4 separate regions of the Homo sapiens genome follow, and all the other regions are linked to region 1. Evidence: promoter capture Hi-C in human tissues and cell types (Jung and others, 2019). All regions are on one chromosome and are shown on one strand. Each heading gives the region's core, a stretch centred on a gene start or on the middle of the fragment in contact. The rest is flanking DNA. Distances are from core to core; before and after follow the strand shown.

Region 1 (3,485 bases), core at 500-2,999:
CTACAGCATGACCGAACCACCCACCCTCACTGCTGCAGTGCACTACTCACTCGTCTGAGCCTCTATAAGGGCCATTTCTGGCTGGATACGGTGGCTCACACCTATAATCCCAGCACTTTGGGAGGCTGAGGTGGGAGGATCACCTGAACTCAGGAGTTTGAGACCAGTCTGGCCAACATGGCAAAACCCCAACTCTACTGAAAATACAAAAAATTAGCCGGGCGTGGTGGTGCATGCCTGTAATCCCAGCTTCTTGGGAGGCTGAGGTAGGAGAACCACTTGAACCCGGGAGGTGGAGGCTGCAGTGAGCCGAGATCACGCCACTGCACTCCAGCCTGGGCAACAGAGCGAAACTCTGTCTCAAAACAAAACAAAAAAAAATTAGCCAGGTGTAGTGGTGCATGCCTGTAGTCCCAGCTACTTGGGAGGCTGAGGTGGGAGGATCACCTGAGCCCAGGGAAGTCAAGGCTGCAGTGAGCTGTACTGCACTACAGCTTGGGTGACTGAATGAGACCCTGTCTCAAACAATAACAACAGTAATAATAAAAGAGCCATTTCCTCTGACTGGGTCCATCACCCCACTTCTGACCCCAGACTCCTACTAGTCTCACATAAGCCATCCTTTTACTTTGAGACCTGTGGCCAGTTACCAAACTGCCCTGGGCCTCAGTCTCCTCATCTGTAAAATGGAATAAATGCTACCGACATCATAGAATCGAGGTGCTTAGAACAGTGCCTGGCACATAGAAAATGCTAGGCAAGGGTTAGCTATTGTTACTGTTGCTGTTGAACTAACCTGACCTTTCCCCAACCTCTAAATCTGAGTTAAGTTCCCACTTCTAGGCTTCATCATCCCCCTGTACCTGCAGCCATCACACGGGATTCTAACTGTGTGGTTACCCTTCAGTCTAACATCAAGCTCCATGGGGGATCCAAGGACGGAGTTTAATCTCCTGCACCCAGCAGGAAGCCTGGGACAGTAGGCGTGACTTTTGTATGATGGAAGCCCAGGCAGTAGGGCAGAAGGATGGGCCAATCCTGAGGTTTTAGATCCGAGATTCTGGGAAAAGTAGGGGCAAGATCCCTGGCTTCTATCTGAGGGAGGCTGGGCCTGGACCAGGTTTGGGGACAGTGTGCCCCAGGGTGTGTGTGACACATACCTCCTTGTTGTCCATGGGGATCTTGAGTTTCACCACCTCATACTTCTCCTCACCCTCATCCTCCTCACCCTTCACCAGCAGCACCATCTCCTCCTGCATCTCTTCCTCCTCCTCTTCCTCTGCCTGCTGTTCGCCAGGCATCTTGGTGTCCTGAGGCGGGGAGCTGGATCAGAAGCTCAGGACCCGCCCCCCCCCACCCCCCCCCCCGCCCACCGTGGCCCTGGCCCAGCAAGGCAGTGCAGCCGTGGCTTCTCCCGCCCTGCCCTGGTCTCCGAATCTGGTCCTCTCCCGTCCACCCCAGCCCGGCCCCACGCTCTGGCACAGCCCCGGGACCAGCTCCGAGGGCTCGCGTTCACCCCACTCATCCCAGCATTCAAGGCCTTGAACAGTTCGAATCTCCAGCCCCCGCAAGTCGCCACCATCCTTGCGCTGAGTCACTCCCCAGGGCCCGGGTCGGCGACCTGGAGCTCTGGGGCACGGGCTGGAGGCGGGATCGGGGCGGAAACCCCGGGGAGGGGGTGCGCACTCACCAGCCGAAGGTTCGGCACTCGCGGTGCCCCAGGCCTGGGCGCCGGGCGGCTGGGCACTCAGCGAGGCCGCGGCTCCGGGGGCGGGGAGGGGGCGGGACCGCAGGGACGGCCGGTCATTGGTCCGAACATATAGCCCCACCCCCTGGGGCGGAGCCCGAAGGACCCAGGCGTCCGGCCCAAACGGCTCGGAGAGGGCGGCGAGCTCAGACTTGGCGTCCTCCGCAGTCCCCCGACTCCCAAGCACCTGGAGCCGCCCCAGCCCGGCGTTCAAGGTCCTTGCCGCCGAGTTCCAACCTAACCTCGCGGCCCGTCTCCTGGGGCCGGCTTGGAGGTCTCCGCTGCGCCCAGTGCCTCTGCTCCGCCCGAAATAGGCCACGTGCGCTCCCGCCCCGGCCTGGGCCTCTCCCTGGCGCCCCGCCTGGAGGGCGGACCCTGTTGCCTCCTCACTTCTTCCATTCCCTCTTTATCTCCTCTGCCGTCTTTTCTCCATCTTTCTCGGCTTCGCCTATTCCGCTGGCCTCTGGGATATCCTTGAATACATCCTAACCAATTCAACATCCACCCAAGCTACCGCTGTCGCGTCATGCGTGGGGTGCTTACCATGCGCCAGCGCTGTTCAGCGTCTTACATACCTGGTCTCATTTGATCCGCATAACGATGGGTCCTGATCCATTTTACAGATGAGCTCACTGAAGTTCAGGGAGGTAAACTGATTTGCCTAAGTTACACGATAAGGATGTCATAGCATCCCTGACAATCAGTAGCCTAGGTGAACAACAGCCCAAAGCTAAATCCAGTCCACAGGGGTACCTTGTTTGGCCCTTAGGGTATTTTTACTTTTAAAAAATCTTTTCGGACGGGCACGGCGGCTCACGCCTGTAATCCCAGCACTTTAGGAGGCCGAGGCGGGCGGATCACGAGGTCAGGAGATAGAGACCATCCTGGCTAACACGGTGAAACCCCGACTCTACTAAACAAAATACAAAAAATTAGCTGGGCGTGGTGGCGGGCACCTGTAGTGCCAGCTACTCGGGAGGCTGAGACAGGAGAATGGCGTGAACCCGGGAGGCGAGCTTGCAGTTAGCCGAGATCGCGCCACTGCGCTCCAGCCTGGGCGACAGAGCGAGACTCCGTCTCAAAAAAAAAAAAAAAAAAAAAAAAAAAAAATCGTTTCAAAGCCGGGCGCGGTGGCTCATGCCTGTAATCCCAGCACTTTGGGAGGCGGAGGCCGGTGGATCACTTGAGGTCAGGATTTCGAGACCAGCCTAACCAACATGGTGAAACCCCGTCTCTACTAAAAATACAAAAATTAGCCAAGCTTGGTGGTGCATGCCTGTAATCCCAGCTACTCGAGAGGCTGAGGCACGAGAATTGCTTGAACTGGGGAGGCAGTGGTTGCAGTGAGCCGAGATCATGCCATTGGTCTCCAGCCTAGGCAACAAGAGCGAAACTCCGTCTCAAGAAAAAAAAAATTAAATTGGGATATTTCATATAAAAATAGATTTTTTTTTAGTGGAATAAACAAATGCCACTTCCTTTGAAAAACAGCCACTTCCCTTGAAAAAGCAGATATCTAATTTTCCCATTTTATGAATGGGGCAACTAAGATTCAGAAATCATGAAGGAAAACAGAAATAACATTCAGTAAGTGCTTACAAGTTCTATGTTGTCTCTTTACAACAGCCCTGTTGGGATCAATAATATCTCCATTGGACAAAAGAAGAAACGGAAGCTTAGACAAGTTAAGTAATTTGCTCAAAGTCACACAGCTGGCAAGCAGCAGATTCAAAGCTTG
Region 2 (3,407 bases), core at 18-2,517, 300 kb before region 1:
GGGCCTTGCCTACTTACCTTTCTCACAAGCCAAGTGGGCAAGCAGAGAGATGGTCTGGATGGTCTTCCCAAGCCCCATCTCATCAGCAAGAATGCCATTAAGCTTCTTCTCATACATGGTAACCAGCCAGTCTAGCCCAATGTGCTGGTACTCCCGGAGCTGGCCCCGCAGAAGCAGGGGAATGGGCGTCTTTACCTGTCAGAGAGGAAATATAGGTAACACAATGGAAATGAGGCATTTGTTGTGGGGACATGAGAAAGTCAAGACATGAGAAAGGAGAGGCCAGAACCTGGGGATACCTGGGTCGTGGCCAGCGTGTAACCCTTGGGCTGGAGACTTTCAGCTGCTGCAGCAATGTCAGTAATTTCTTTCTTTGGACCTAGAGTAGTGGGCCCTGGAGTAGGAGGCCCACTGCCTGCATCTGCCTCACTCTGCTCTTCATCCCTGGCAAGCAAGTACTCCACCCCAAAATCATCATCTTCCTCCTCTTCATCTGCTTGGCTCTGTGATTGGGCATCCTCAGACTCTTCAGACTCAGATTCCTCTGATGCTGAACTTCCACTTGTTTCTTCCTCCTCTGAATGTTCATCTTCCTCATCCTCACTCCGGTCCTCCACAGAGTCTAAAGGGTAAGACCAAGGCTTACTGCTCATCATACCTGCTCTTCCAATGGCCACCCTCCCCAGCTCCTGCTTCATGACCACATATTCACCTGACTGACTGCTACTATCCTCCTGAGGAGGCTCTTCCGCTTCCACGGGCCCCTCTGGTTCACAGTCAGAGCTATTAGCATCAACCTCATCTTCATCCTCATCTTCACTGCTCCCAGAGCCTGGGGCATAGGCTCCTGCATACTGCTGCAATAGCTCCTCCATGGAAAGCTCACCTGGAAGAGAAACAAAAAGCTTTTGGTTGCTCTGAGGGGAGGGAGAAGGGGAGGTCTGAGTAGTACCAGTTAATTTTACCTAGGTCTCTGTAGATACTGCTAGGCCCAGGTCTGAGGGGAGGCAAAAGAGCTTACTTTCAGCATCAGCTAGCAAAGCCAAGCCCCACAACCTGGGGGAAGTACCATGGGAATTGGGAAGAACATTATCAACCTGGTGAGCCTCTCAAGGTCCAGGTCAAATGCTGTCAGTATCTTCCTACATTAGCTCTTCCCTCCATTTCACTCCCACATCACCATTTAAACTTCTATCATAAGCACTCATCACTTTCTACTTATCATTACTGGTTTACAAGTCTGTCTTAGTCATTAGACATGGAATTCCTCCAGGGTGGATACAAAGTGCCTTATTCATCTCTTTATCCTTGGTACTGCACACCGCAGACACCAAGTGGATGCTTAGTAAAATGTCTGGTAAATGTCACCTTCTCGAGCCAACTCGCTCAGCTCCATGGCATGATCCACCTCCCCTTCCAACTGTTCCTCAGCTGCTATAGTATCCTCTTCATCCTCCGCTAGGAAAGAGACAGAAGCAAGATTAATAGGGATAGAGGCTAGAGGCACAGGACACAGTCCAAATGAAACAGATGAGAAAGCCTGAAAGGTTAGGTCCAGACAATTCATTCAAGGGGTAAGGGGCAATAGGACAAACCGAACAGCCCTGACCTTCCTCTTCGTTGGCAGTAAACTCTTCATCATCTTCATCTGGATGCCAAGGCTGTTTGTTGCGCTGTGTGACAGCAGAGGGTGGGGGCTTTATCTGTATGGCAAAAGATAAAAAAGGGAAGGGTCTAAGGTTACAGTAGCAGAAGAATGGCACAAACTTGAAAAAGGTGTCACAGGAGAATCACTGTCCCATTGAGTGACAGTTGCCACTGGTATAATCCCAGGGCAAGAATACAATCAAGGGTTTTCTCTCAGCACCAGCTACCAAATCCTGGCCCCACTGCCTGGGGAAGGAACTGTGAAAGTGCCAGGTAACAAATAAAGGCACCCAACACTTCCCCATGCACTTGAGACATATGGAGAAACAGAAAAGACTTAAGGGTACCATGCCAGCTTCCAACCTGTAAGCCAATAAGGGAACATTAGGGCATGTTCAGAGAAGTGGCAAGTAACGGTCAGAGGAAGTACTTTTTCAAGACCACACAGCAATTTAAAGAGGAAAGTGCAATACGCTCTTCCACTATAGCGCCAAAACCTGCCAATCACAAAATGCAACTTGCCCCAAACAGATTCTTCCCCAGTCATCCCCAAAGAGCCCAAATGTCCATTACTAGCAGAACTCCTAAAACTCATAACCAACCTCACAGCCCGGAACTCAGACCCTGAACCTCTCCCTCTGTTCCCCCTCTGAACCCTCCCTCTGCTCCTTCTGCCTATACCTCCAACACCTGAGGGGGCTCTTCTTCAGCACCTTCTTCAGGCCCATCTCGGGTGTCACTATCATGAGATGAGGGGGTTTGAGAGGGGCTGGAAGGCCCTTCCAACAGCTGAGGGGGAAGGGAACGGAGCAGCTCTTCCAGTGGCAATTCTCCCTCACGGCGAAGCAGCTCAATCTCACGCCTCTGGGCCTCTGCATCATTGCCTTCCTGTTGTTCTTCAACTTCAATCGTTTCCTCATCATCCTCTTCCTCATCCTCTTGGGGTTGAAAGTCCCCATCTATAGCAGGAGAACAAGGTCACAAAGTCCACGGGCCCTGCAAGCCACAGGGTGGGTTTTTCAGCTCTGGAAAGGGTACATGAGGAAGAGTAACAGGACCAAAGAGAACACACACCTTCATCATCCAGGCGAGAAGCAGGGGGTGGAGGACTGGAGGCAGCTGAGGAAGAGCCGAGGCAAGGGGAAGAGCCTGCTTTGCTGGAGGTTAATGGCTGGTTGAGGCTCTGAGACAGAAGGTCCGAGTACTTTTCAGTTTGCCCCACAATGAAGTCCAAATGCAGGTCCAGGGCTTTTTTGCGCTTTTCCTCAAGCCGGGACTGTTGCTTGAATTGCACCACCTGCCACAGATGTGAAAGGGACTGCTCACCAAGATAACCATTTTATTTATGTACTTTTACCCGATGTTTAGGGAGACCTTCTTTAACCAGATCCTGGGCTGGCCTCTTAGGAAAGTAAAACTAAATAACCTTAGGGGCTCACTATGGTCTAAAGGAAGCACAAAGGGAGCATGCAGGAAGAAGAGCCAGCTTCGCCTCAGGTGGAGGGAAGGTTTGCAATCTGAAGCTGGATTTTTTTTTTTTTTTAAAGAGATGAGATCTCACTATGTTGGCCAGACTAGTGTCAAACTCCTGGGCTCAAATGATCCTCCTGCCTCACCCTCCCACGTAGGTGGAACTACAGGCATGCATCACCACACCCAGCTGGAACTGGGTCTCAAAAAATAGGTAGGTGGGCCAGGCACAGTGGCTCATGCCTGTATTCTCAGCACTTTGGAAGGCTGAAGTGGGAGGATCACGTGAG
Region 3 (3,065 bases), core at 303-2,802, 510 kb after region 1:
CACCTGTCCCTTCCATGGCTGCCCCCTGGCTCCCCGCTGGACTGTTTCCCTTCCACATTCCACTCTGGGCTGTCTCTCTCTCCTTCCGCGGTCCTCTCTCCACGCTGAAGCTCCCTCTCCCCTCCTTCATGCACCTCCAACCCTCCTCTCTCCTTTCTCTCCCCTTTCTCTCTCCTTCTACCTCTTCTTCCTCCTCTCCCTCTGTCGCCTCCTCACCCTCTTCTTTCTCCTTCCAGCAGCCTCCTCTCTCTCGCTCTGCTTCTCTCTCCCACCTCAATCTCCCCCTTTCCTCCCCACCCCCGCTTTTCGCTCGCTCTCTCTCCCCGCTTCCTCCTAGCTCCCCTGGGCAGCGGTTCCTACCCTGCCTGGACCTGCAGTCCCGGGAACCCGCAGCCTGTCTTCCTCCGCGGCAGCTTCTTTCTCTCCGGCCTCACTGCTCTCTCCTTGCCCTCGCTCCTCACTAGCCCCGACCCTGCGGTCCTGCCTGGCTCTCGCTCCCTCTCTCCTACTCGCTCCTTCCTGGGCTCCCACTCACCCTGACGTCACTCCTTCCCGGAGCCCTCTCAGCTCAGCCACCCCCGAACCCTCCCAGTGGCACAGCAAATCAGCCGGGTGCCGGGGGAGGGGGGAGAGTTGTCGCTGGAGGTGCCTCCCCACCCCCCCCGCCCGGAAAGGGCGCCACGTGGGGCGCAGGGGCCACGGTGCCAGCCTCCAGCCGTCCCGCAATGCGAAAGAAGGGGCGGGTCGTATCGGGCGGGGCCTGAGGGGCGGGGCCTGAGGGGCGGGGCGAGCGCGGACTGACGGCTGGGCAGGCGCCCGGGACTGCGGGCAAGGATGCTGAGGCCAGTCCGTCGGGCGGCTGGTCCGTCGGTCGGTCGGCCTGTGACTCCCGCTGGCCCTAGGCAGCCCGGGAGCCCGCGAGCCTGGCAAACACCGAAAGCGGCCTCAGCCAATCGCGGGCGGCGTCGGGCCGGGCCCGCCCCGGCGGGGCGAGGGGAGCTGTCCGCGCGCCGCTGGTGCTGAAAAGGGCGCTCCGGAGGGAAAATCAGAGCCGAGGCCGCCTGTTAGCTGGCCGGGGTCAGGGTTTATGGAAGAGGAGGGGTCTGTCTCTCCTCCCCAAACCCCGGCCCGTCACCCACGAGACTTGTCACAATCGTGGAAGCTCTCTATTCCCCTGGAGGAGGGAGAGCCCATTCCACCCGAGCTACTGTAAAAGGGGAAGGGAAGCCCCTTGGGAGGTCTGAATGTGAACAGGGGGCATAATTGGGGGCCTAGCAGGCGCGAACCAAGCTATGCAGCCCCTCGGCACCCTGGGAAGAGGAGATTCAGATTCCAGATGTGCTGGAATGGCAGGCGGAGGGGGCTAATTACTGCTGGGACCAGAGAGTTTCCTTTGCCTCCCCTAGGGGCCGCGGGAGTGAGGATTACGGCCCTGGCTCGTATGATCCCTCCCTCCTCCATCTGCACTTCCTCCTCCTCCCTCCCCGTCAAATAAATCCCAGGCCCCTCCCTCCGCCCGTCCCCAGGATCTGACGTGGGCTCGATACCTTTCTCAGCTTCTCCCTCCCGCAGCTCCAGTGCCCGAGCTTCGGCTCTCCCAGTTCCCCAACCCACCCCTTCCCCTCCCCGACAAGCCCCGCTAGAGCCCAGTGGAGACCCCCTCGATCCTCGACCCCACCCTAAACCCCCAGAAGCTGTCTTTCTCCTCCCCAGTCCCCTAGCTTGGGGTCCAGACAGCCCAGTGGACCCAGGCGCCTGAGCAGGAGGGTAACCCAGGCCACCCGGCCCCTTCGGCCCTCTCGGCCCCACCCCCTGCAGCCGGAGCCGCGCCCCCTCCACCACAGAGCCGCGAGAAGAGGACAGAGGAGACTGAGCAAAGGGGGGTGGGCTCCAGGCGACCCCTAGCCCAATTCTGCCCCTCCATCCCAAGGGGCAGAGAAATTGTCTTTCTTTGCTGACTCCTACGAGGAAAAAAAAAAAAAAAAAAAAAACAATTAAAGGGAAAGATAAACGGAGACGGAGGAAAGGTGGCAGCCAGATTACTTAGAGAGGCACAGAGGAGAGAGATCGGGGTGAGTCGCCATGGGGACTCCCAGGGCCCAGCACCCGCCGCCTCCCCAGCTGCTGTTCCTAATTCTGCTGAGCTGTCCCTGGATCCAGGGTAAGGACATGAGACTGTGGGGGTGGGCCCCAGGAAGGCGTCCAGCGGGGTCCTCCACCCTCCTTTCTCTTAATATCCTGGGTCTTCCGAGCACATGGGGGAGGGGAGAGGCACAGCTGATGGGGAAGGGGCAAGCCAGAGCTTTCAGGCTTGAACCCGAAGCCCCTTAACCCTCAATATTGAGAAGGCAGAGAAATGAATGAGAGAAGCTTTTAGCAGTGTCTCAGGGGCTAGATCCAAGAAGGAGGGCTGGGAAAGTTGGGGGGATGTCTGCGGAGGCGGCAGAAGCATGGAGGGACCTGGGTGGGAGATGGAGGTGCTGAGAGAGATGCCAGGCGCTGTACACACAACTGTTCTTGGATGAATGGACAAAGACAGATGAGCAGAGGCAGGGCTCAAAGACCAGATTTTCAGTCCCCCACTCTGACCCCCAGCCAGACTCCAGGGAAGGAGGCAGAGACTGCAGAGGACCAGAGAGAGAGAGGGTGGGGGGGAGAGAGAGAGAGAGAGAGAGAGAAAAGACAGCCACACTGCAGAGACAGAAACCCAGAGAGAAAGCCAGGCACTGCGGAAGCAAGGGCTGGGAGGTGCGGCCAGATCCTCTGCAGAGCCCCAGGGTTGGGGGGAGATCACCACTGAGGTGAAAGGGAAGGCAGCACCGGCGACCCCTCTGCCTTGCTGGCGCTGTCCAGGGTCCATAAGAGCTAAGGTGTTCAATGAAGGCCCACACAGCCCAGGGAGAAGGGAGAGGGGAGGGGAGAGAAGAGGTGTGGGAGTGGGAGTATGAGGGCAGCTGGGAGCCCCTCCTCCGATCTTGGCCCTCAGTCGAGCCTGGGACCATCTGAGCCCCTGCAGGCCCAGCTGATGGAGGAGGGAGGAAGAGTTCTAGAAAATATCTCTCTGG
Region 4 (3,169 bases), core at 48-2,547, 370 kb before region 1:
TGAAACATCTGTAACAAGACTCCCACTCCCTAATCCTGGAGACCCCTTCAAAAGGAGAGGACTCTGCTCAGCGCTGGGTCAGAAAGGAAGTGCTTGCCAACCCCAGTAATGCGCTGTCCTGGAGTAAGAGGACTGAGATGCCAGCTGTGGGGCCCGTCAGGAGTCACGTCTCAAGAGAGGGGTGACCCAGATTTTTGCAAAGCTGTGGAAGAGACCTCTAATTCCATGACCTAAAGTTTCACACAACCTTTATGCAAATCCTTCGCCATTTGTCTATCCTGGCCCCAGCAGGATGACCCTCACATTTAAAAGGATCAAAATCTCAAACATTGTGGGAGGAAAACGCCAGGCCTGCTGGGGAGAGGGAGAAGGCAGGCCTCAGGATTGTGCGGAGAACCATGTTGCCATCTGCATAACGCCCCAGCCTATCCAAGTGCCAGGAAGGGAAGCACTACTGAGGGGGGTGCTGCCTGTGGGTCTCTTCCTAACAGAACGCCAACGAAGGGGGTGCCCTGTAAGAATGAGAAGTCTGCCAAGTCTAAGGAGATGTCCCCCTCCCCAAGATGGTAGCAGAAACTGAAGTTGTAAAGACAAACCTCTCGCAAAGCCAGAAGCAGATGCTCTCAAAAACAGGCCTAAGGAATCTGTTCCCAGAAGAGGCCTGGGGAGCAGCTTTTGGGGCTCAGAGGCCAGTCTGGGGGGAGGCAGGCAGTGTGACTGAAGGCCGGCGCAGGCCTGTTTCGGACTAGGGTGTAGCATATTTAGTAGGATGCTCACATGTTGTAGGGATGGGTGAGGGCTAAGGGGCTTGGCTCTTGTACGGGATGGATGATGTGAGCGCACAGTTCGTAGGGTCAGGCGTCTTGCGGTAGGAAAGGGGCAGGGTTCGATACCTCTGGGGTGTGGCGTGTTCTCTCTTGCCCACCTCCCCAAGCTCCTTTAACCAGGAGCTTCCCTCCCAGAGTGAGCTACGTCTTGGGAGGATTGAAGCAGGGAGGTGGCAGTGGCTAGAGTTGCTCAGATCGGCTCAGATGAAGGCCCAGGGGTCAAAGCATTTGCTCACCACAACTGAGTCTGGAAGGCACTGTGCAGCCAAACCCTCTTGTCCAATCACATGCAGGCCCCAGGCCCCTCAGAAACGCCCTGGTGGAGGGAGGAGCCCAACAGATAGGGTCAGGGAGTCAGTGGGGAAAGCAGAGGGGAGAGCTTAGAGTGAAACTTGAAACTGCTATGGACATGGAGGTCAGATGGGAACTTGGAACTGGGCATGAATCCTGAATGGTGGGGAAACTTGAAGCCATCACAGCCAAGAGGTGGGGTTCCATGACCTGCCCTGAGGTCAGCAGCTCCCAGACTCCTTTGCCCTCACTAGGGAAGCCCCAGTCACCGGACTTGTCCCCATGGAGTGAAGAGAGGCCCCATTTTTGAGTGTTGTGTGTCCAAAACAGTGTTGTGTCACTGGTGGTCATGTTGCTTAGTTGAAGAGAATAAAGGGAATAAGATTTCCTGGGTGTTTCTTGTTTTTTCTTTCAGCCTAAAGTGAGCTGAAAGAGTGTGGCCTCACCTTAAGCCGGAGCCCAGGAGTGACTGCAAAAGCTCAGCCCAGCCCCAGGCCCACCCTTCACCCAGGGGCCCTAAAATCCCCATCCATTGCTGGCTTGTGGGAAGCTGAAGAGTTTATGAAGTTTTAAGCTGCAGTCCCTTGGTGCGGAAAGGGATAAATCTGATGAGATGGCAGCCAAGCTAAGCTGTTCTCATCGGTGCCTGGCCTTCCCACCAGCAGGACTGCAGAGTGGCCGCCTGGTGGCTCTGGCGCTGGCCAGCTCAGGCCCAGCTGTGCAGCCCCAGGGAGGCCTCTCTGACCACCATACCCGCAACCTGCCACAGGGAAGTTCTGAGGATCTAGTTTCAGAAGCTGGCATCCACCACTCCTGGTTCACTTGGGGACCCTGGGAGAGGTGGGTGGAGACCTGGCTTGTCATCACTGCCAGGATGTCAGCCCTTGTGCCCTCACTGTGTGGAGAGGCGAGGCTCAGAGAAGGGCAGCCAATTGCCCAAGATCCACAGCAAGTCCGTGAAGGAAACCAGAATGGCCAGGAACTCAAGCATGTTTTGTGCCCACTCCATCCCAATCTCAGGCCTGCCTCAGTGCTCAGTCTCCTGGGCCCTGGGCCTGGCCATGGGGGATTGGGGGAATCCTGCCCCAGCCAGAAAGTGTCTCCCCACCTTTCCTGTACCCCTCTGACCACAACCCAGGGCAGGTTCAGTGTCTCCTTCCCTTCCCCACCTGGAAAGGGGGGTGGGAGGAGAGGAGAAGCAAGTAATGAAGGCTACTCTACATTCTCTGTGTGCCAAGCCCTGGGGACACTGAGGTCTATCAGGAGTCCCAGTGCTGGAGAAATCTGCAGGAAAGTGACTACAGCAGAAGAGCAGACACAGGGCAGTGACTGCCTCAGAGATTTCGCAGAAGGGCTGTGGACCCAGAGATGGTGCCTGCCACAGTGGAGGGTCAGGAAGCTTTCCGGGGAAAGTGACCTGAAGGATGAGGGCTGCAAGAAGACCCAAGAGTAGGTGTATCGGCTGGGGGTGGGATGGAGGACAGGGGTGCATAACAGTTGGGTATGGGCTTAGAGCAGAGAGGGGACTATGGGAAGACAGAGGCAGAGAGCAGAGCCCACAGTGTGGAGCCCCTGGAGGAGCTCGGGGAAGGTACCACTTGGGGATATTTGAGAGTGACATGATCTCTCTTCTCTCCACAAGAACAGTGGTGATTCTCCAGGTCTGGAGCTCAGGAAAGAGGAGTGGCTGGAGCAGTTAGGTCCTTATCAGCTTAGCTATAGCCATAACCATGAATAAACACACACAAAGTGGCAAAGTAGAAGGTCTAGTTTAGGGGTGGAGGAAGAGGACCAGCAGAAGACAGTATGAGAAAAACCAGGACAGGACAGCGTAGCACCGTCGGATGCAAGGGAAGTTTTGAGAAGACAGCGGTCTACATCAGGCAACCCACTGGCCAATCACAGGCAGTGCCCAAGGTCTGGCTGAAACGGGCATGTCCACCACTGATGCCAACATCTGTTCACTCCCAAGAAGACAGCCAAGGTCGGGGTGGGCCCAGGAGTAGTTTTGGTCTGCCAGTCCCTGGGCAGCAGCCCAGGGTACCGCTGCC

What was found. Contacts are between HindIII fragments. The study calls those that stand out against the background at their distance.
Region 2: a contact is called between a fragment that was not itself captured here and the fragment with the promoter of ZNF771 in region 1, in 1 of the 25 tissues and cell types used here (spleen).
Region 3: the fragment with the promoter of SEZ6L2 here is called in contact with the fragment with the promoter of ZNF771 in region 1 in 2 of the 25 tissues and cell types used here (IMR-90 fibroblasts and neural progenitor cells).
Region 4: a contact is called between a fragment that was not itself captured here and the fragment with the promoter of ZNF771 in region 1, in 1 of the 25 tissues and cell types used here (adrenal gland).

What each region holds. Positions count from the first base shown.
Region 1 is chr16:30,405,870-30,409,354 of GRCh38, reverse strand. ZNF771 (zinc finger protein 771) reads right to left here and starts at 1,749. Exons shown (of 3, transcript NM_001142305.2): 1 at 1,691-1,749; 2 at 1,161-1,310. The coding sequence starts at 1,301. RefSeq lists silencers at 1,614-1,823, 1,846-2,025. The HindIII fragment of the contact is 10,608 bases long and covers 1-3,215 here.
Region 2 is chr16:30,709,050-30,712,456 of GRCh38, reverse strand. SRCAP (Snf2 related CREBBP activator protein) reads right to left here. Exons shown (of 34, transcript NM_006662.3): 7 at 2,722-2,944; 8 at 2,329-2,606; 9 at 1,610-1,703; 10 at 1,369-1,458; 11 at 713-886; 12 at 300-622; 13 at 18-195. It overlaps SNORA30 (small nucleolar RNA, H/ACA box 30), which reads right to left and starts at 1,920; the gene lies at 1,792-1,920. The HindIII fragment of the contact is 4,122 bases long and covers 1-3,328 here.
Region 3 is chr16:29,898,037-29,901,101 of GRCh38, reverse strand. It overlaps SEZ6L2 (seizure related 6 homolog like 2), which reads left to right and starts at 1,552. Exons shown (of 18, transcript NM_001243332.2): 1 at 1,552-2,161. The coding sequence starts at 2,083. ASPHD1 (aspartate beta-hydroxylase domain containing 1) reads right to left here and starts at 614. Exons shown (of 3, transcript NM_181718.4): 1 at 1-614. The coding sequence starts at 130. RefSeq lists a silencer at 567-996 and an enhancer at 1,360-1,654. The HindIII fragment of the contact is 10,220 bases long and covers 1-3,065 here.
Region 4 is chr16:30,776,793-30,779,961 of GRCh38, reverse strand. It overlaps ZNF629 (zinc finger protein 629), which reads left to right. Exons shown (of 3, transcript NM_001080417.3): 3 at 1-1,506. Among named protein-coding and RNA genes, the nearest start is that of ZNF629, 8.8 kb to the left of the region's middle. The HindIII fragment of the contact is 5,594 bases long and covers 1-3,169 here.